Linked DNA regions of Homo sapiens: regions 2, 3, 4 and 5 are each linked to region 1. Evidence: promoter capture Hi-C in 16 types of primary human blood cells and fetal thymus (Javierre and others, 2016). All regions are on one chromosome and are shown on one strand. Each heading gives the region's core, a stretch centred on a gene start or on the middle of the fragment in contact. The rest is flanking DNA. Distances are from core to core; before and after follow the strand shown. Region 1 holds the start of AGA (aspartylglucosaminidase). Region 2 has its middle 49 kb from the start of WDR17. Region 3 holds the start of WDR17 (WD repeat domain 17). Region 4 overlaps SPCS3-AS1 (SPCS3 antisense RNA 1). Region 5 overlaps SPCS3 (signal peptidase complex subunit 3).

Evidence for each region. The method cuts DNA at HindIII sites, captures the fragments that hold promoters and counts their contacts. A CHiCAGO score of 5 or more calls a contact.
Region 2: a fragment that was not itself captured here is called in contact with the fragment with the promoter of AGA in region 1 in 1 of 17 cell types (naive B cells); the score reaches 6.4 in naive B cells.
Region 3: the fragment with the promoter of WDR17 here is called in contact with the fragment with the promoter of AGA in region 1 in 3 of 17 cell types (naive B cells, total B cells and non-activated CD4 T cells); the score reaches 7.0 in naive B cells.
Region 4: a contact is called between a fragment that was not itself captured here and the fragment with the promoter of AGA in region 1, in 1 of 17 cell types (total B cells). The highest score is 5.3, in total B cells.
Region 5: a fragment that was not itself captured here is called in contact with the fragment with the promoter of AGA in region 1 in 7 of 17 cell types (non-activated CD4 T cells, activated CD4 T cells, naive B cells and 4 more); the score reaches 8.9 in non-activated CD4 T cells.

The regions. Positions count from the first base shown.
Region 1 is chr4:177,441,187-177,444,968 of GRCh38, forward strand. AGA (aspartylglucosaminidase) reads right to left here and starts at 1,251. Exons shown (of 9, transcript NM_000027.4): 1 at 1,063-1,251. The coding sequence starts at 1,189. It also overlaps a transcript of AGA-DT not described here. RefSeq lists enhancers at 297-376, 1,203-1,746, 1,837-1,916. The HindIII fragment of the contact is 8,233 bases long and covers 1-3,782 here.
Region 2 is chr4:176,014,634-176,018,574 of GRCh38, forward strand. No RefSeq gene overlaps it. Among named protein-coding and RNA genes, the nearest start is that of WDR17, 49 kb to the right of the region's middle. The HindIII fragment of the contact is 1,598 bases long and covers 1,139-2,736 here.
Region 3 is chr4:176,064,067-176,068,007 of GRCh38, forward strand. WDR17 (WD repeat domain 17) reads left to right here and starts at 1,775. Exons shown (of 29, transcript NM_181265.4): 1 at 1,775-2,013. RefSeq lists a silencer at 1,651-2,030. The HindIII fragment of the contact is 5,440 bases long and covers 629-3,941 here.
Region 4 is chr4:176,305,177-176,309,117 of GRCh38, forward strand. It overlaps SPCS3-AS1 (SPCS3 antisense RNA 1), which reads right to left. Exons shown (of 4, transcript NR_186171.1): 3 at 3,092-3,291; 4 at 2,782-2,791. Among named protein-coding and RNA genes, the nearest start is that of SPCS3, 13 kb to the right of the region's middle. The HindIII fragment of the contact is 7,935 bases long and covers 1-3,941 here.
Region 5 is chr4:176,329,880-176,333,820 of GRCh38, forward strand. SPCS3 (signal peptidase complex subunit 3) reads left to right here. Exons shown (of 5, transcript NM_021928.4): 5 at 1-2,366. Among named protein-coding and RNA genes, the nearest start is that of SPCS3-AS1, 11 kb to the left of the region's middle. The HindIII fragment of the contact is 1,791 bases long and covers 1,366-3,156 here.

The DNA.
Region 1 (3,782 bases), core at 1-2,500:
TTTACGCAAGTTCCCTCTTTCAATACAGGCAACTTAAACACAGAACTGTCCCCCGCCCAGGCTGATGCAATTTCTTTTCGTCTCATTATGGCTGGGAATATCTTTCTCACAGCCTGCTTCTTCATTTTCTCTGAATCGTATGCACTGCCACCAAATTCTGGAGCCAATTCTGCCCTAGAAAGTTAATACGTTAGCAACCTCAGATGGAGGAGGAGGGGTCTGAAAATGACTCTTCTGGTCATTAAGCAAATGAAAGAAACAAGCATAGTACAATGCGAAAATGCCAAGATAATGGTACGTAAAGGCTATTAACAAGGTGTAGAAGGCAGGAACCTAACTCATTCTGGACACGAGGGCAGTTAAGTCAGGGAACGCTTCCTGGAAGAGGTGATACCTTAGCTTAGTGGTTCTCAACCCTGTCTGCAAATCGAAATCACCTAGGGAGCTTTTTAAAGAAAAACAGTGGCCCTGATTCCAGCAGTTAGATCACAGTCACAGGAGGTGGGCCCCGGCAGGATGATTTTTGAGAAGCTCCCCAGATAGTGTGAATGTACAGCAAAGGTTGGAACCTTGAATTCTAAGTGGCAGGTAAAGTATGACAACACGTGGCAAAAAAAGTAAATGGGAAAAGAGTAGGCTATGGCTGGGACACTATTAGTCGTCTACAAAATTGCAAAGAAGTGAAGGATTAGAAACGAGAGGTGGAGACGTACACAGCCCGTGAAAAGACTGTCAGGCAGAAAAGCGTAGCTGCTACTTGATTAAAGCACAAAGGCCATAACTATGGTCAGCAGCAGGGTGGAAAATACATTGCGCTGGGGGCTGCATGAAGGGAGGACCTAAAATGCAACAGCGGTAGGTGGGGAGGATGCAGTAAAGGCCACTTGCAAGAGACTGAGCGGCGCTGGAGACTCGGGAAGACCTAGAGGGCGGGACCGCGAGGCCCGGCCCAGCCCGGCGCTCTTCCGTCCGCCCTGCCGGGTGACTGCAGCGGGGCGGGCTAGTCATCCCCACCCGCAAGCTCTCGCGGCGCAGCCGCCCGCCCAGGCCGCCAACCCGCACCTGCTTCGGTTGCATTCTTAAAGGGCCAAGTGTTGACGACCAGGGGCAGAGGGCTGGAGCAGCGCACTAGGGCCTGGCAGAGCAGAAACGGCACGAGAAGCACAGGCAAGTTCGACTTCCGCGCCATCCCTGACCACCGAAGAGACCAGCGCGAGAAAAGTCCCGGCAGCCAGCGATCGCCGAACAATTAATCCCCAGTGCCCCGCCCGCCTGGCGCCCACGCCCGCTCTCTCGGGGGTTCGCTCAGGCGTCCCTCAACTCTCGCGAGACGAGGCGTCCCTGGGCCCGCGGGAGAGTTGTGTCACGGGGCACTGAGCTGTTCCCTGCGCTAAGGTGCTTCTTCCTAAGTGCTGTTCAGATTTTTAAAATAGCCAGACAAGTTGCTGCTTTTCCTGTGGTTAAAATAGATTTAGCTTGATATTGGGAATTTAATACAAAATTATTCAACTCTGGGTTGCAGGGCCCCAGGAACTTTAGCCGATTGCTGTGTACTATGGATTTGGTTCTTTTACTGTCTTTTTAATTTAAAGTTGAAGTTGAAAAGTTTGTCAAACTCAGTATATTCTTGGGGATCCCAGGCCTCGGAGGTCTGCAATAGTTATGAGTGTAGGTGAAGCGTGTTTGCTTAGGACCGGATTGATTTTAGATTTTTTTTCCATTCATAGCGTCCGTCATTTTCGCACCACAGCTTTTTGTAGCACTTCCTCTCATTATAAATCCCTGAGCTGGAAGAAAAACAGAAACGGCCTATGTACCCTCTACCTAGCACACTGAAGTGCAGCTTCCTGCACCTCCAGGGCAAGACGGCTACCTCCATTCCTTTTTAAATGTATTTTTACCTTCCTGCCTGGCACTATTAAGTGCTAAATAAATGAATAAGAGGAGGAATGGGGATTTTACGTGCTTGGTGGAGGCTGCTCAGTTTTGTTGCTGGGCAGACGTGCGAACATGAACTAATAATCCCTTTGGGTGTCTGGAATGCCTGCCCAGGTTGCCAAGGCAAGACACATAATCACATAATTTTTAAAAGCATCTATAAATCTATACAAACTTTAAAAATATGAACTAGGCTGGGCACGATGGCTCACGCCTGTAATCCCAACACTTTGGGATGCTGAGGTGGGTGGATCACGAGGTCAGGAGTTCGAGACCAGCCTGGCCAACATAGTGAAACCCGTCTCTACTAAAAATACAAAAATTAGCCGGGCGTGGTGGTGCATGCCTGTAGTCCCAACTACTTGGGAGGCTGAGGCAGAATTGCTTGAAGCCGGGAGGTGGAGATTGTGGTGAGCCGAGATCGCACCACTTCACTCCAGCCTGGACAACAGAGTGAGATTCTGTCTCAAAAATAAATAAATAAATAAATGTAAAAATATAAACTAGGTAGGAGTTGTGAGACTTACAAAACCTTCAAGGCTCTTATTGATTGCTAGGAAATTAAATACATAATTTAAAGAACATAAGATAGCCCAGAAGTATCATTATCCCGTTGGGGAAGTGTTAATTAAAAGATATAATAAAGACAAATTTTCTAAGTTCCTTTCATGGGGTTTGGAAGAGGAACAAGTCATCTGTGCTGGAGTAATCATAACCCAATGGCAGGTGAAACTGGAAACTTGGGTGAAACAGGGTAAGAAAGCCAGAAAAACATACATTGTCCTCTGAGTAAATTTTCCTTAGCTCCTGGGCTGAGTATTTTTATGCAGCCTTAAGGAATTAGGACATGCCTTTAGCAAAAATTGTAAAATACAATACATGGAAAATTGGTCTTAGTACCCCACTGATCTCTCTAGCCTCTTCCTGTTTTTTAAGGTATTTGTGTTTCTTCTGGTGGAAAGAGCCTGATCTGTTACCTCCTACTATGTCTATTTCTCCAAATTCTTTCTTCTTAAATAAAAATTCCTGTCAGAGAAACAGCTAAATTACACTATAGTGGGAATGGCTGATAGAAGGTCTCAATATATCAACTTTTCCATGGATATTTGTATGTATGTATGTATGTATGTATTTATTTTTTGAGATGGAGTCTTGCTCTATCGCCCAGGCTGGAGTTCACTGGTGTAATCTCAGCTCACTGCAACCTCCACCTCCTGCATTCAAGCGATTCTCTTGCCCCAGCCTCCTGAGTAGCTGGGATTGCTACTGCCTACTACCATGCCCGGCTAATTTTTGTATTTTAAGTAGAGACAGGTTTTGCCATTTTGGCCAGGTTGGTCTTGAACTCCTGACACAGGTGATCCACCCACCGCCCCCACCCCCCCGACCTCCCAAAATGCTGGGATTACAGGTGTGAGCCACCGTGCCCAGCCGGATATTTGTATTTAAATAACTAATATGCAATCCCTATAGAATCTACCCGATTCAGTGTCTTCTTAGTGGCTACTAAAATACCTACTGGATCCACTGTCCAGTTTGCCTAAATTGTAGCTGTTTCTTAAGTTAAATTCGTCTGGATATTTGGTTCCTTCTGGAGTAGTTTTCCTTTGACTAACACTTGAAGAATAATTTTCATTTTAGTTCTAGAAGTAACCTTCTGTTACTCTCACTTAGGTGCTCTTTTGGGCCTAAATATAATTAGATCCTTCGCCGTTGTTTTGAGGTAAATCTAAACGAAAAGGAACACCTGTTAACAGGTAGTGATGCCGCAGGAAAGTGCTGGGAAGGGAATGCTGGGAAGGGAAGGGCGTGGTCCCTTTAAATGATAAGGAAGGGGGGCGGGA
Region 2 (3,941 bases), core at 688-3,187, 1.4 Mb before region 1:
AACACCAAACAAAAATAAAAAGTACCAGAAATTAACAATAACTAAACAAAAAAATGAGAGAAATTAAGAAAAGAAAAATGAGAAAAAGACTGAATAATAAAAATGAGAAAAATAAAAATGAAAAAGGGCAGTGAGAAAAAAGAAAGTAAGAAAATAATAAAAAATGAGGAACAGAAAAAAACAGTATAGAAGAAAAATTTAAAACAAGCAAAAGAGAAAAAAAGCCAAAGAGATAAAAAGTTAACTTTGGTCAAAGTCTCTCAGGTCATGGAAAACCAGCTTCCTGAGCTGGAAGCACCAAAGTTTAGACCCAGAAGTTGTAGGTTCTTAGAATTTCATAAAAATAGCTCCTTATGCAGGTTATAGCAAGAAATGAACTATCACTGGTAAGGATAATCCAGAGTGGTTTTCTTACATTTTGGTTTTGGAACACATTTCTCTTAAGAGGGGGGTTGAGGTGTTCCTAAAAAGCTTTTAATCTGAGTTATATTGATCAATATTTACCTCGTTAGAATTTAAAACCTGCAGAGTGTTTCAGTGACTTTTTCATTCCTAGTTTGGAACTTACAATAAACTTTGGCTTTTAAAGAGCTCATAGTATCTACATTTAAAATATATAATTTCTTTCTTTCTTTCTTTCTTTCTTTCTTTTTTTTTTTTTTGAGACGGAGTTTTGCTCTTGTTGCCCAGGCTGGAGGGCAATAGTGTGATCTCAGCTCACTGCAACCTCTGCTTCCTGGGTTCAAGCAATTCTCCTCTCTCAGCTTCCTGAGTAGCCTGGGATTACAGGCATGCCCCAACATGCCCGGCTAATTTTGTATTCTTGGTAGAGACGGGGTTTCACCATGTTGGTCAGGCTGGTCTCAAACTCCTAACCTCAGGTGATCTGCCCACCTTGGCCTCCCAGTGTTGGGATTACAAGCATGAGCCACTGTGCCCAGCCTAAAATTTATAATTTCTTTTTTAAAAACTCTGAATGGTTGGTCTCAAAATGACGTCACAACTTAGCTGACATCATGATACTATACAAAAATGTTCCATTGCATAGGACACAATCAGATATACTTAGGTATACATTATTAGGATTTTTAAAGCTGAGGGGAAGATAGCTTCCATCATACTCTCATTTCTTATTTAAAGCTTTGCCTTTCTTTGGAGAAAATTCCTCCCTTCCATGAGATAGATGATTCATTTTGTTCATGTCAGTATTTTCAAATGTAGAGGTTGCAACTGTCAGTTGAGAAAGCAAGTTTCTCTTTTTCTTTTTTCTTTTTTCTTCTTTCTTTCTTTCTTTCTTTTACTTCTTTCTTTCCTTCTCTTTCTCCTCTCTCTCTGTCTCTTTCTTTCTTGCACTTTATAGACTATTTAAAATAGTAGTTTAGGTTCTCAGCAAAACCGAATGGAAGATATGGAGAGTTTCCATATCCCCCTACCCAACACATGCATAGGCTCCTCCACTATCAACATTCCCCATAAAAACAGTTCATTAGTTACAATCAATGAACCTACATTGACACATCATTATCTTCCAAAGTCCATGGCTTACACTGTGGTTCACTCTTGGTGTTACATGGTCTATGGGTTTGGACAAGTGCATAAATGACTTGTACCCACCATCATAGTATGCAGAATAGTTTCATTGCTCTAAAAATCTTCTGTGCTCCACTTATTCCTTCCTCCCTCCCCACTAACTCTTGGCAACCACAGATCCTTTTACCAACTCCATAGTTTTGCCTTTTCCAGAATGTTATATAGTTTTAATCATACACTGTGTAGCCTTATAGTTAAAATCATACAGTATTGGCTCCTTACACTTAGTAATATGTATTTATGGTTCCTCCATGTCTTTTCATGCCTAGATAGCTCATTTCTTTTCAGTCCTAAATACTATTTAATTGTTTAAATGCACCATAGTTTATCCATTCACCTACTGAAGGACATCTTGGTTGCATCCAAGTTTAGACAATTATGAATAAAGCTGCTATAATCATCCGTATGCAGGTTTTTGTGTGCATATAAGTTTTCAACTTATTTACGTAAATAACAGGGAGTGAGACTGCTGGATTTTATGGTAAGAGCATGTTTAGTTTTATAAGAAAGTGCCAAATTGTCTTTCAACTAGCAGTGCGTGAGAAGCTCCAGTGTCTCCACATTCTTATCAGTATTTTGGATTTTTGCCATCTCACAGTTGTGTAGAATTGTCTCATTGTTGTTTTAATTTCCAATTCTCTAATGACATAACGATGTGGAACATCTTTTCATATTCTCATTTCATATATTATTATTATCTCTGATTAGGTGTCTGTTCAAATCTTTTGCCTTTTGTAAATCAGGTTGTTTTTCTTATGGTTGAGTTTTTAAAGTTCTTTGTTTATTTTGACTAACAGTCATTTATCAAATAGTTTTTGCAAATATTTTCTCCCAGTCTGTGACTTAAGACTCATATTTTAATTATTATTATTTAGCATATCTTAATGATTAAATATTAAACAGGATTATACATTTAAAGTAGACCACATAGAAGCTGCATATGTAAGTATTGTTTCACTAGAAACAATTGTCACTTAAGTTTCTGTGATGGTAAGAATGAGTACTCACTGGTCTCCTTAATAGTAGGTGAATTGGCATGAATCTGTAGAGGTGTATGCATGAGACAAGAATTTTCCAGTTTTACACTTTTTGCACATTGGCAAGATATTATATGATCATAAACATCACTAAAATATACACGTGCTAAGCTTTAGGGCTTTCAGATAACCACCAGTAGTTTTGTATTGAATTACTTGGTTTAAAGACAAAGCTCAGATATGTGTTCAATGATGAAAAAGAAGTAGTAGGAAATCCTTTTCTTCTTTCTCAAGAACATTAGCACCTCTTCAAATACATTGATTATAGAACACAGACAGCCCTTGCGATAGTTTGCTGAGAATGATGGTTTCCAGCTTCATCCATGTCCCTACAAAGGACATGAACTCATCCTTTTTTATGGTTGCATAGTATTCCATGGTGTATATGTGCCACATTTTCTTAATCCATTCTATCATTGATGGACATTTGGGTTTGGTTCCAAGTCTTTGCTATTGTGAATAGTGCTGCAATAAACATATGTGTGCATGTGTCTTTGTAGCAGCATGGTTTATAATCCTTTGGGTATATACCCAGTAATGGGATGGCTGGGTCAAATGGTATTTCTAGTTCTAGATCCCTGAGGAATTGCCACACTGTCTTCCACAATGGTTGAACTAGTTTACAGTCCCACCAACAGTGTAAAAGTGTTCCTATTTCTCCACATCCTCTCCAGCACCTGTTGTTTCCTAACTTTTTAATGATTGCCATTCTAACTGGTGTGAGATGGTATCTCATTGTGGTTTTGATTTGCATTTCTCTGATGGCCAGTGATAGTGAGCATTGGGAATTGAACAATGAGAACATTTGGACACAGGAAGGAGAACATCACACACCGGGGCCTGTTGTGGGGTGGAAGGATGGCGGAGGGATAGCATTAGGAGATATACCTAATGTAAATGACAAGTTAATGGGTGCAGCACACCAACATGGCACATGTATACATATGTAACAAACCTGCACATTGTGCACATGTACCCTAAAACTTAAAGTATAATATATAATACTTCATATAATATATATATATTATACTTATACATATATATATTATACATATATATATATTATACATATATATATGTATAAAAGAACACAGACTGCCAACTGGGAAAAGAGTTTTCCAACATCTGCATCCATGAAGACGTTTTCAAATGATGTAAAAGCAGATTGATGCTTTCACTGGATTTGTAACTTTTTTTTTTAATACAGAGGGATTTGTAGCCTTCTCCTTCATTAAACAGTATTAATAAAATCACCTCTAAGTAAATGAAATCCTTATGGTTTTTATTAATGATATTAATTTCTTTTTGAGGTTT
Region 3 (3,941 bases), core at 525-3,024, 1.4 Mb before region 1:
CGTCCAACCGATGGACTAAGCTAGACGTTGTATCTTCAGCATTTTCTCTTCATGTACACCATTGACTATTCAGCACTATACCTAGCAAATATCAGTCATAAATGAAAACTATAGTCTGTTTTCACAGAAATGTTTCTTGTGATTTTCCCTCTTCGCTATTCTTATTTTCATTGTCTTAACTCAGGTCATCAGCATCTTTTCCCATGAACTACTGAATTTTTCTCCTAACAGACCATGTTCTTCATCTTCCTGCATCCCATGTATCTCCAATGTTTCCAAGGTGTCTTTCTTGATGAAAAAGCACTGATTTTATAAACTTCAATCTCTTCCTTTGGTTTAGAGGTTAAAGCCTAACCCATATATAGAATTCTGCATCTTTCCCAATCAAGTTTTCTTATTTTTCTAGTACAGTCTTTTGCCAATTTCCATCTTCCTTCTTATCTTTGGATTCACATCCCCAACTCCGGAGAAGGCAAAAACATCAAATTTATTTACATCAATCGTTTATTTTTTCCCACTTTATGCTTTTGGCAATGCTGCTCCTGCTGCATAGTATACACTTTCCCCTTTTTATCAGGTGAAATTCTACCTATTTATAAGTCCCTGCTCAAATACTAATCATATTGAAAGCTTCTCTGAATACCTTGGAAGAAAAAGTTCTGCCTCCCTCATCTGAAATCATCTCATAGCACTTTTATGTAACCCTATTTTAGTACTTAACACATTGAGTTATATTTAGTTATTGCCCTTATACTTTCTCTGGTAGATTATGTGCTAATTTCTTTCTTTCTTTATCCATCTATCCATCAAGAATTAATTGAAGACCTGCTATTCATCAGATACTTTGTTAGAATATAGGGGACGGAGTTGTAAGAACTGATTTTAGCTTTAACAAGTTTATTCTTTATATGGAAATCCAACATTTAAGTTAATTTTAATTTACAATATAGAATATTGAGTGCTGTGGTAGGTACTCGTCTCTGCAGAGAATATTTTGGAAAAAAGGAGCATTAAAATCTACTGCATAGGAAGGTAAGAATTAGGCCCAGGGACTTTCTCTGGTTGAGGTCGACCATTCATTTATTAACTATTTAGAGTGGAGTATAATTAATTCTCGATAGATGTCATTAAATACACTTTGTTTCGAGTACGTCGAGGCTTATTCTCTCTAGTGTGTTGGATAAAGGCCACAGGTAGTGAAGATATTTCAGAGATGTGAAGAATCCAGTAGGAATGACAACATCCAGCACTTCCATTCAACCAGATCCCACAGGGAAAATGTCAGTTTTGTGAAGGCAGATACATTAACCACATACAACTCGATTAATATAAACAAATAATCTTATCCATTGAGCTCTCCCACAGACCTTCTTGGGCCCAATCAGACAATAATGAAGTGCAGGCGAGACAGCATTCTGCACTCACATTCCAGGCACTGGTTCAAGTCCCTCCTCCAGGTCCCTCAAGAAAGAGACAGGATGACTGACTTACTGTATATTTGACTCATTTTCCTAGAAAGTGCAGACTCGCTATAAAATGTGTTAGGTGGTGAGAACGCTGATGGTTCACCGTTTTCCTCCACTTTCAGCCTCAGTGCAAACCCTCTGCCCAAAGCCTCGCTCCAGTACGGAGGAGCTGCGCCTTCAACACACTTTCTCTGTTGCCAGGTAACCACTTCTCCCTCAGCCTAGTCTCCAAGGGTCACGAGCCACTTCCGCCTCCCCCTCTCGGGCGCTCCAATCAGCGACCTGTGTAGCTGTCACGTGGGCCTCTGGGGCAGACCCTGGAGATCGGGCTCGCGGCGCCTTCCATCGTGGCTCCGCGCTGGGGCTTGCGGAGCACGCTTCCCGCCCCTCGGAGCCCGCGGGCCCGGCCGCCCCGCCCCCGGGCGCCCTGAGCGAGCAGGCGGGGAGGGCGGGGAGGGTCCGCGCGTTGGTGGTGCTCGCCTCGCAGCTGCGCCCGCCGGCTTCAGCACCTTCCGCTGTCCGCCGCTGCAGCCGCCTCCTCCTCCAGGTAAGAAGCCGGTGGGGCCGCAGAGATACCAAGGCAAGCTCAGGATTGATGTGGGTGATGCTGGAACTGTCGCGGCGTCATGCGAGAGGGGCTCTGACCTCCCTGTGATCGCGGACCAGGGTAATGTACGTCCTGCAGGGCTTTGCACACCATGGTGCCTGATGAGATAATCAACTGAGTTTTAGAGCCACACACCTGATTCTTACAAGGCACAGCAAGCAGCGAATATTTATGTATCTAAACTACCATTGCAGTGTAAACTGTGGACATTTCGAGGGACATTGTTTTATTTTTATGGCTATTAAGTATATGTCTAGAGCCTAGGTTGCTGTTCTCATCCCTCCGCCGGCCAGACACTTCTGTATAGATCATTTACCCCTTTGAAGATGGACTTATTAGTAGGGTTGTACTAAGAAAGGTTTGAGTAAAAAGGAAATGCGTTCCAGAAAAAAGACGGTATTGGATATAAGGCAGGTATACTATTTATTAAGTAGATCGTAAAATAGAATCTTTGCTGTCCTCCCCTCTCCAAAATCAGACTTGTTTTGCTTGCAAAGATTGAAAGGAACAAACAATTTAAGGAGACTTTTTAAATATATTAATTAAAAGCAATTGATTCGAATGAAAAGTAATGAAAAGTCCGACCATGCATCAAAAATAAATTATTTTGCATATTAATATATACATATATACTATATATATTTAACAAGGGTTTGAAGAGAGATACTACATTTCTGAATCTTTCATAAATACCCTTTAGAGAAAACTATCAAAAAAACACAAGTTCGTTGTAAAAGGATACGAAACGGCCAAAGCCCAACAATGTGAGATTATAGTTGCCGTTCTTAGCACTCTAATAACATTTCTGCGTTGTAAAAATTAGAAAATAAATGACAATGAATTTATGAGAATTTATAAATTTGAACTCCACAAGAGTTTAAGCATTAATTTATTTGTAGATTTATGCCTTATCATTACCCTGCTTGCCAGGAGCTGATGCTGGGCGGGTGGTGAAACAAACTCTGTGGAGAAAGCACTCTTACATCCTTTTGAGATTCTGCCTCACTGGCCTAAGTGTTCAAGAAAATGGATATAGTTATATCTAACTGTTTTGAAGGCAGACGTCTGAGATAGGTGGTCTGAGAACCTTTCCCCTCCTATCATCTAAAATTAAATATAGTTATTAAGTGCTTTTGAAAAGTTGTCAATTCGTTAATATTTTGGGAAACATCCTTTACTGGATTGTTTGGAGATTAATGTTACAAATGGTAGCTTTAGAGTTCCTGGGAAGTTTTAAAGCAATGACTTATTTCAAAGGGCATATACGGAAAGTAAAGCTCTTGAGTTCTGCAAACGTAATTATGTAAAAATAACTAGTTGAATGTTATTGTTTACATTGTTCTGACTTTCTCTTGTGTTGATATTAATAGAACTGCTTAAAAAACTGTGGACATCTGAAGAAGACGTTAAATATGCTTACTTGAAAGTTTTAACATTCTTTATTCTTCTTATTTCTAATGATAAATAGTGGTGTTCTAAATATTTTTAAGTTACCCATTAGTCACATAAATAATTCCATAGATTAGAAAGCCATAAATTAATTTAGGCCAGAAAAACAATGCTCCCAGTAGAGGGGAGACTAGGGCTAGATTGCTTTTGTTGTTGCTGTTTTCTACAGACTCTATCTTGTATCCTTTAGTCTGGGAAAGGAGGGACAGGGCCAGTGGCAGTTTTTTAATTACTTGGAGAAGTTTAAGAACAGGTTTCTGTTTGTTTGTTTTATGGTTTTACCCTGATGGATACTAGAAGTCCAACATGAATGATTAGGTTGTCACTATTAATGAAATGTGTAAATTCTCCAGAGTACCTGATTTTGTTGCCTAAATACTTTAATGACGACTAAAATGTAATTCTGACAGTTTTGAAGG
Region 4 (3,941 bases), core at 362-2,861, 1.1 Mb before region 1:
GAACTCCTGACCTCAGGTGATTCGCCCACCTCGGCCTTCCAAAGTGCAGAGATTACAGGCGTGAGTCACCGTGCCCGGCCTGTTTCTATCATTTTTTAAAAGGCTTTCCATATCCATAGCTTTCTCCTCAGACCAGGGTGGGAAGCGGTGGTAGTGTCTTGTGCTCAGTGCCTCTTCACTTAAAGTGACATTTTCTGCCCTGTCAGGATCCTTGTTCTCTCTGGCTATAATGTTCATCAATATCTTCTGCATTCTCCTTACTGTCTATAAACCACAATTATGGGCAAGATTCAAGTTCTTTTCTGTGAAATTCTTAGGTTTCAAGAAAATCAGGGGTTATGATGAAATATGATGGAGTGTCACCTGGTTCTGCATGTTAGTGTCCATGAGCTGTTGCTCATGTGCATTTATTTAAAACCTAGAGACGATGTATAAGATAAATCTAGTTTATAATAAAATAGCGAGATTGAATAGATCACAACTGTGTCAGCTGTGGTGAAAGCACTAGAAATTAAGTTATTTTTCTTTTCTGAATTGACAGATAATGACAATAATCACACATTATTGTTTGTATTAGATTATTCTTTCAAATATACTTAGTATTCCTTGTGTCAAAGATATTGTTTTCTTCCAAGTCATTTTGTATAAAGTAATATCCCCCTACACTCTGGCATAATAAAGCAACCAACTCATATTGCAAGTTTTTTTTCAGACAAAAAAAAAAAACAGTTAAGATATATGCAATGTTGCTATTTTATTATAAATTATATTCATCTTATTCATCATCTTTAGGTTTTAAATAGTAGCTGCACTTGTAGTTAAATGCTATTTTAATTCTCCAATGAATATCTTATATATAGAAATAAAGAATATAAAACTCTAAAAGTGCTTTTCATGCAGTTTCTCATTTATTACCCCTAATACCCCATTATCAGCTGAACTGTGTCCCCACCCCCCCAAATTCATACATTGAAGCTCTAACCCTCAGTGTGATTGTATTTGGAGTATGGCCTATAAAAAGGTAGTAAAGGTTGAGTCACAAAAGTGAGTCTTTTTTTTTTTTTCTGAGACGGAGTCTTACTCTGTCACCCAGGCTGGAATGCAGTGATGTGATCTCAGCTGACTGCAACCTCCGCCTCCCAAATTCAAGCAATTCTCCTGCCTCAGCCTCCCGAGTAGCTGGGATTACAGGCACATGCCACCAGGCCCAGCTAATTTCCGTATTTTTAGTTGAGACGGGGTTTCACCATGTTAGCCAGGCTGGTCTCGAACTGGCTGGTCTCGAACTCCTGACCTCGTGATCCACCTGCCTCGGCCTCCCAAAGTGCTGGGATTACAGGCACGAGCCACCACGCCCAGCAAGAGTGAGTCTTAATCCAGTATGACTAGTGTCCTCATAAAACAAGGAAGGGACCTAAGAGGCCTCTCTCTCCCTGAGTGCACATGGAGAAAAGGCCCTCTGAAGATTCAGTGAGAAGGCAGCCCTCCACAAACCAGGAAGAGAGGCCTCACTAGAAACCAGTCCTGAAGGCATCCTGATCTTGGACTTCTAGAAATGTGGCAAATTAATTTCTGTTGTTTAAGCCACTCAGTCTATGGTAGCTCAATTTTACAAATAAGAAAAGAGGCCAAGGAAAGGTTCAGAAACTTGCTCAAGGTCACGAAGCAGCCGGCAGATTTTCAGCAGACTGGATGGCTACAAGATCAGTCAAAATAAGTTAGAAAAGATTTGAAAAGAAGTGCCATAAGCAAGAATATTTAATACACAGAGTAGAGTTTATAATAACATAGCAAGATTGCTTACAGCCTAACTGGATTGCTGGATGAGAAATTCAGGCAGAGAGAAGCAATCTTATAGAGAACATCACGTGACTCAGAAAAGGCAGAAATAGGCTTTTATCTGTTCTTTTGAGGCTGGATAACCCTTGGGGCAATTTAGGAAGAACTTTCTAGAGGTTCACCTAGGGAAAGAAATGAAAGAGTAGCTAGATGATAAAGTTTGAGATAGTAAGATATCCGCTAATAGAAAATAAGGAAAAAGACTACTTCCCACTGTGTTTAGAATACAGTTCAAATTCCTTAACATGGACTATCTTTGTGGTATAATGCTATAATTTATTAACCAATCCAGGACATTTTTTGAAGTCAAAGGGAGTGCTATTACAATTTTTCCAGGAAAATATGGTAAAACTAGGACAGCTCTGGGCAAACATGTATATACAGTTACCTTGGCGATAAATGAAGGCCCTGCATCACCTGACCACATCTTGTTCAATTTTCCCCATTCACTGATCCTACTGACTTTCTTCCAGTTCTTTGAACATACCCACCGCTAAGCTCATTCTTGCTCAGGGACCCAACACATACTTTCAGTCTATCTTGTTCAGCTCTTCTCTCTTTGCCTGGTTAACTAATAATCTCTGTAGTGATCACACTCTGTAGGCCAGTTACACAGCAACCCTTCCCTACTTTTTTCTCAATTGTACCTGGATTTTGCCCAGCTGTCCCTCACACACCCTCTGTCACTTGAGAAACTCTGTAACTACAACCTTAGTCCGGGGAAGAATACTCACAGGAAGAAGTCGGTCAGCCGTGGCATTCCTCTGTCTGCCAACAACCTTAGTTTTCAGAGATAGGGTCTTGCTCTGTTGCTCAGGTTGGTGTACAGAGGTGCCATCATAGCTCACCGCAGCCTCAAACTCATGGGCTCAAGCGATCCTCCTGCTTCAGCCTCGGAAAGCACTGAGATTACAGGTGTGATCCACTGTACCCAGCCTTGCCTGGGCAATGACTTAAGGAAAATATATTAGTTTGGAGCTTCACATGGCAGAAAACTCTCCTAATTAGTGGTTTGAATGAAACAGAAATTCATTTCTGTCCCTCATTTAAAAGAAGTGAGGAAGGAGACAGCCGGGGGCCGGGATGGTGTTATAGCTGTCAAGCACTCAGGGTCCATATTGCCTTGTTACCTTCACATGTGGCTGTAGATCTTCAGATCATATTCACATTGCAGCAGCAGGAAGCACGAAGGGACAGGGAAGGGTACACCCCTTCCTTGTGAGAATATAGCCCAGAAATCACTTCCACTTACCTCTATTGCCAAAACAGTCAAAAGGGCACACCTGGTTCTTAGGAAAGCTGGGAAATGTAATCTTTGTTCCAGGTGGCTCTGTGCCCCACTGAAAACTTAGGATCATGGATCTTGATGCAAAACTAGCAGTCTTTCTGCCACAGTGCACCAATTAGCCCGAAGGGAAGGACTCAGTCCTAGCATACTCCTCTTTCCCTCTCCTGCTGGACATGACCAAGAAGACAAGAAATCCAAGTTGCAACTCTTTAAGTGAGAGAAAAATAAACATCTAATTTTTTTTGAGACTTCTTATAACCATAAAAAGACTCAGGCTTAAAAGGAAATTGATACTGTGGACAGCAGAGCCAAAACAAGAACCCAGGCACCTGATAATATGGTTGAGCCACTGAAACCACCAGCTCTCCATGAGTTACCGAGAGAAGAAACTTCTTTATTGCGCAGGCCACTTTGGTTCAGAGTTTCTTCTCCTTGTAGCTGAAAGCATGTTAACGAAATTCCCTACAGGTGCCCTACACACTCCATCTGTTATAATTTAACTTAGTAACCTCTTCTTTTCCTTTATAGCCTTCATTATAATTTTGAATCATTTGTTACTTGCTTGAAGTTTATGTCCTCTGCTAGGCTGTGAGCCATGACCTTTGGGTCTAGATTTGTTTTGTAATTTATTGTATACCTGGTGAATGAAACAAAATGGCTGGCACGATGCTTGGCACACAGTAGGTGTGTAAGTAAATGGTAGCTATGATAAAAATGATGTTTGACTAATAAGCCTTGCTCATTCAAAGAGATCACTTCTCCTTAAAGGTAGCATTGAAGCCACATGAAGTAATGAATGACAGTTTGGGGAGTC
Region 5 (3,941 bases), core at 1,011-3,510, 1.1 Mb before region 1:
ATTTAATTACATTAATTTTAACATCTGTTGTGTGGAGTTGTATAGTTCATGCAAAAGCCTGTGGGTATGGGTTTTTCAAACCAGCAGAAAGGTCAAAGGTACCTGAATGCTAAACTGCCTGGCTCCCAGCTTTTTCATTAAACTTTTCAGGGTCTTGGTTTCTTTATCTGTAAAATGACAGAGTTGGACCAGTTAACTTTAATGGCCATCCTTTTACACCACACAAGTTGATAAAATTTATCTGTTCAGCAAAGAGATTGAACAAAAAAGCACGTTAGTAATATGAAGACAGGAAAACGAATGAAAGTCTAACACATAACTCATATTGATTTACTTTATTTCTGTTAGATTTTACACTCTGAAAATTTCACCTCATTTAGTTTGTACAAATACTAGACATGGAAACTTAAAATGTGCAGGTGTCAAAGCTTAAAAATCAGGTGTGTCCTCTTTAAAGGCATGTGCGATAAGCCTGCAGTCTTAACCAGACCTGGTACCAGTTTAACAGTTCATGATACTTCTGTGATGAGTGGATCTGTTAGTCTGGTAGAGATTAATGTTGAAATTTACTTGAATTACAGTTATTTGACAAGCCCACTTTTTTTGGAGTTTGGTGAGGAAGATAAGTAAAAATGCCCAACTAGTACAATGTGGAGAAAGTTTTCTGTTTGCTTGACTAAGGGAAATTGCTCAGAAAAAGAATGCTCCAACATGGGAATAAGGACCTTCAGTCTCAGGAACTCATTTTTGGGTGCAGTTTCTACATTTAAAAAATTGACTTGTGTTCAGTTTGATAACCAGTTCATTTGCTTTAGTCTCAGTGTTTTAAAGAAGTCTCATAATGTTCTACAAAGACACAAAGCTTCAGGCTTATACAAAACTGAGTATGATTAGAAATACCTGAGCCCAGAAATGATTCTGAGAAAAGAGAATAATTTGAAGACACTTATTTAAAAGTAATTATGGTTAGAAATGAATTAATTTAAAAATGTGTTCACATATCCCTTTCTCTAACAGTTTAACCTAGACAAACATCTGTATCAGTATTTTTTTATTCCCCTGATTGATTACATTTGGTTTCTTTATTCTGAAAGGAAAATAACAAAAACTTCAGAAATTCCTAAGGGTGTAATAAGAAAGTGGGTTTTGAGTTTCCTTTCCTGGAATTATTTTACAGTTCTTTGGTGGGTCTCGTCAGCCAATTCATAGCTGGGCTTTAAGATTATCATCTTAGAGATGATAGATGGGCTTTTTAAAGATTTCATCTTAGAGATGAAAAGCTGGGCTTTTTCTCTAAGATGATAATCTTAAAGCCCAGCTATTAATTGATAATGAACATTTTTCACTATTTTTTTTTCTATCTGAAGCTTAGAGATCTAGAGCTTTGGATCTTTCGGGTATATGTCAATGGAGGTATTATTTTATAATACTTTGCATTGACATGAAGTGGGTTCATGGGGGAAAACCATGAGCTGTGAACATTGGTAGCAAACAAGCATATATTCATTTCAAAACTTTCCTTGCTTTTAGCAGAGAGAAGCCTGTATATGTTACATGTGTGACTTTCAGTAGTTTAAAGAGATGTTTCAAAAAATTGTTGCATGTTTTTGATGCAATTTGGGAAATTGTTTACTTCACAATGTAGTCATTCATAAAAAAATTCATGAAAATACTGAACATATGTTTGAGGATTTTTCTTTTCCTTTTTAAATTTTTTTATTTTTTCTGAGACGGAGATCTGCTCTTACGCCCAGGCTAGAGTGAAGTGGCGCGATCTTGGCTTACTGCAACCTCCACCCCCCAGGTTCAAGCGATTCTCCTGCCTCAGCCTCCGGAGTAGCTGGGATTACAGGCGCCCGCCACCACGTCCGGCTAATTTTTGTATTTTCAGTAGAGACGGGGTTTTGCTATGTTGGCCAGGCTGGTCTCAAACTCCTGACCTCAAGTGATCCACCTGCCTCGGCCTCCCAAAGTGTTAGGATAACAGGTGTGAGCCACCGTGCCCGGCTGAAGATTTTTCTTAATTGCAATAAATATTCAGCATTTTTTCTAATGAAAATGAATTTTGTTTACCAGTAAAAGTATGCATTTTAAAAGACTTTCAGATTTATGCTTTTTACGTGAAGCTGCTAAACTAAAAGTAAATGGAAGAAACCAAGTCTAGTAGGTTTTTTCTTTTTTTTTGTGGGGGTGGGATGGGGGAGGTTAGTTACACTTAAAATATCTTCTCCAGAGACTGTATGCTCCTATACTAGACTGTAAGCTCTTTGAGGGCAGTCTGTCAGATTTATCTTTGTATCTTCCCCAGCGCCTAGTGTAGTGCCTTGCACATAATAGGCGCCCAATAAATATTGATGAAGAATGAAGGCGTTGTGTTTCTAATGTGACCAAACCATGGGGATTCTTTGTCATTAATACCGTCCTCCTTTGTAAGTGCTGTTTTTTTTTTTTCATTCTTGAGCTCCTAATGACATTAGATCTTATCAGGGGCAGTTGGACAGTTCAGTAAAGGTAAATGCTGCTCTTGCTCTAGTTGCTGTGACCTATGTTCTTTCTGACTTGCTAAGAGAGCCAAGTGATAGTGGCTAGTGATAAGATTGATACATAAATTGCTTTACTTTGAAATAACACTGGAAAACCCTACCGTAGACCTGATCAAGAAAAAAAAAAAAACTCAGGATGCATGTTTAAAGTATAGCTCAGGAAGAAATGGGTTAAAACAAATAGCTGACTCTTTGAAAGGCCAGGGTGTTGGCTGATCCTCCACCAGCTTCTTGGGCACATTGGCTGGTCTGGCTCACTAAGGGAACGTTTATTTACTAGTGAATTCAGACAATCAAAACAGAAATACCCCCTCAAAACAACAGAAAATCATTGCATTTAGAGGGTAAGGGATTTTAACCTAAGTGTATGTTACCAGGAATGATAAAAGAGGTCAGCTACATTTTATTTTGTTTTCTCTCAACCTGGGCAAGTGTATACCAGAACTTTCTCTTTTAAACGTTTTTCCTCATACTCTCTTGTCCTTTTCCCTCTCTCCCAGTGAAGTGTTAAGAATTCGGAGTTCAGTAAATTGTTGCCTGATTAATGAGTTGCCATGACCAAAAGAAAACTTACCACTTTAATAAGTATACCTTTATATCCAAATAAACCTCAAGCTTGAAGGAGCTTTGAAGTGTTCCCTTTTCATGTGCATAATTTATACACATTCCACTTGTGTATCTGTTGAGTATAGTTGGAAATAGGCACCTAAGAGTTGAGAAGTAAAGGGACTGATTAGTACTATACTGGAGACAAAGCCTCTGTGCATTTCTTCTAAAAAGTACCATGTTTGTGCTCCTAAGCCCTATGCTTGCTCGTGAGTGGCTTGGAATGGCTGCAAGCTCCCTAGTGAGTGAGTACAAAGGGTGGGAAGGAATCTAACAGATGTGAGTGGGGAGGAAGTGGGTTCTGACATGCGCTGAGGAATCTGAAACAAATTCATCTTATAAGTCTGCTCAAGGTTGTGTGGGTCTCGCTCAAATTTATTTGAGAAATCCATGGCTTATCCAACTGTGCAGCCTCTGCTGCTGCTTTAAGAATCTCTAAATGCTGTTAATTCTCTGCACGTGCACCGACAACCCAGGATGACTAAAAGTCTAACTGGGAATCACACTTAATTGAGATTAAGAGAGAGATTGATTGCTACCTGACTCTTGCCCTCATCTCAACATTTGAAAGTCTGATTAAACATTCTGTTAGTTAAAATAACACCAAGTGCTATGATAGGTGACATCAAACTTTTGGTAGCATAAGAAAAAGTTTGGGCACGGTGGCTCACGCCTATAATCCCAGCACTTTGGGAGGCTGAGGGGGATAGATCACGACATCAGGAGTTCAAGACTAGCCTAGCCAACATGGTGAAACCCCATCTCTACTAAAAATACAAAGATTAGCTGGGC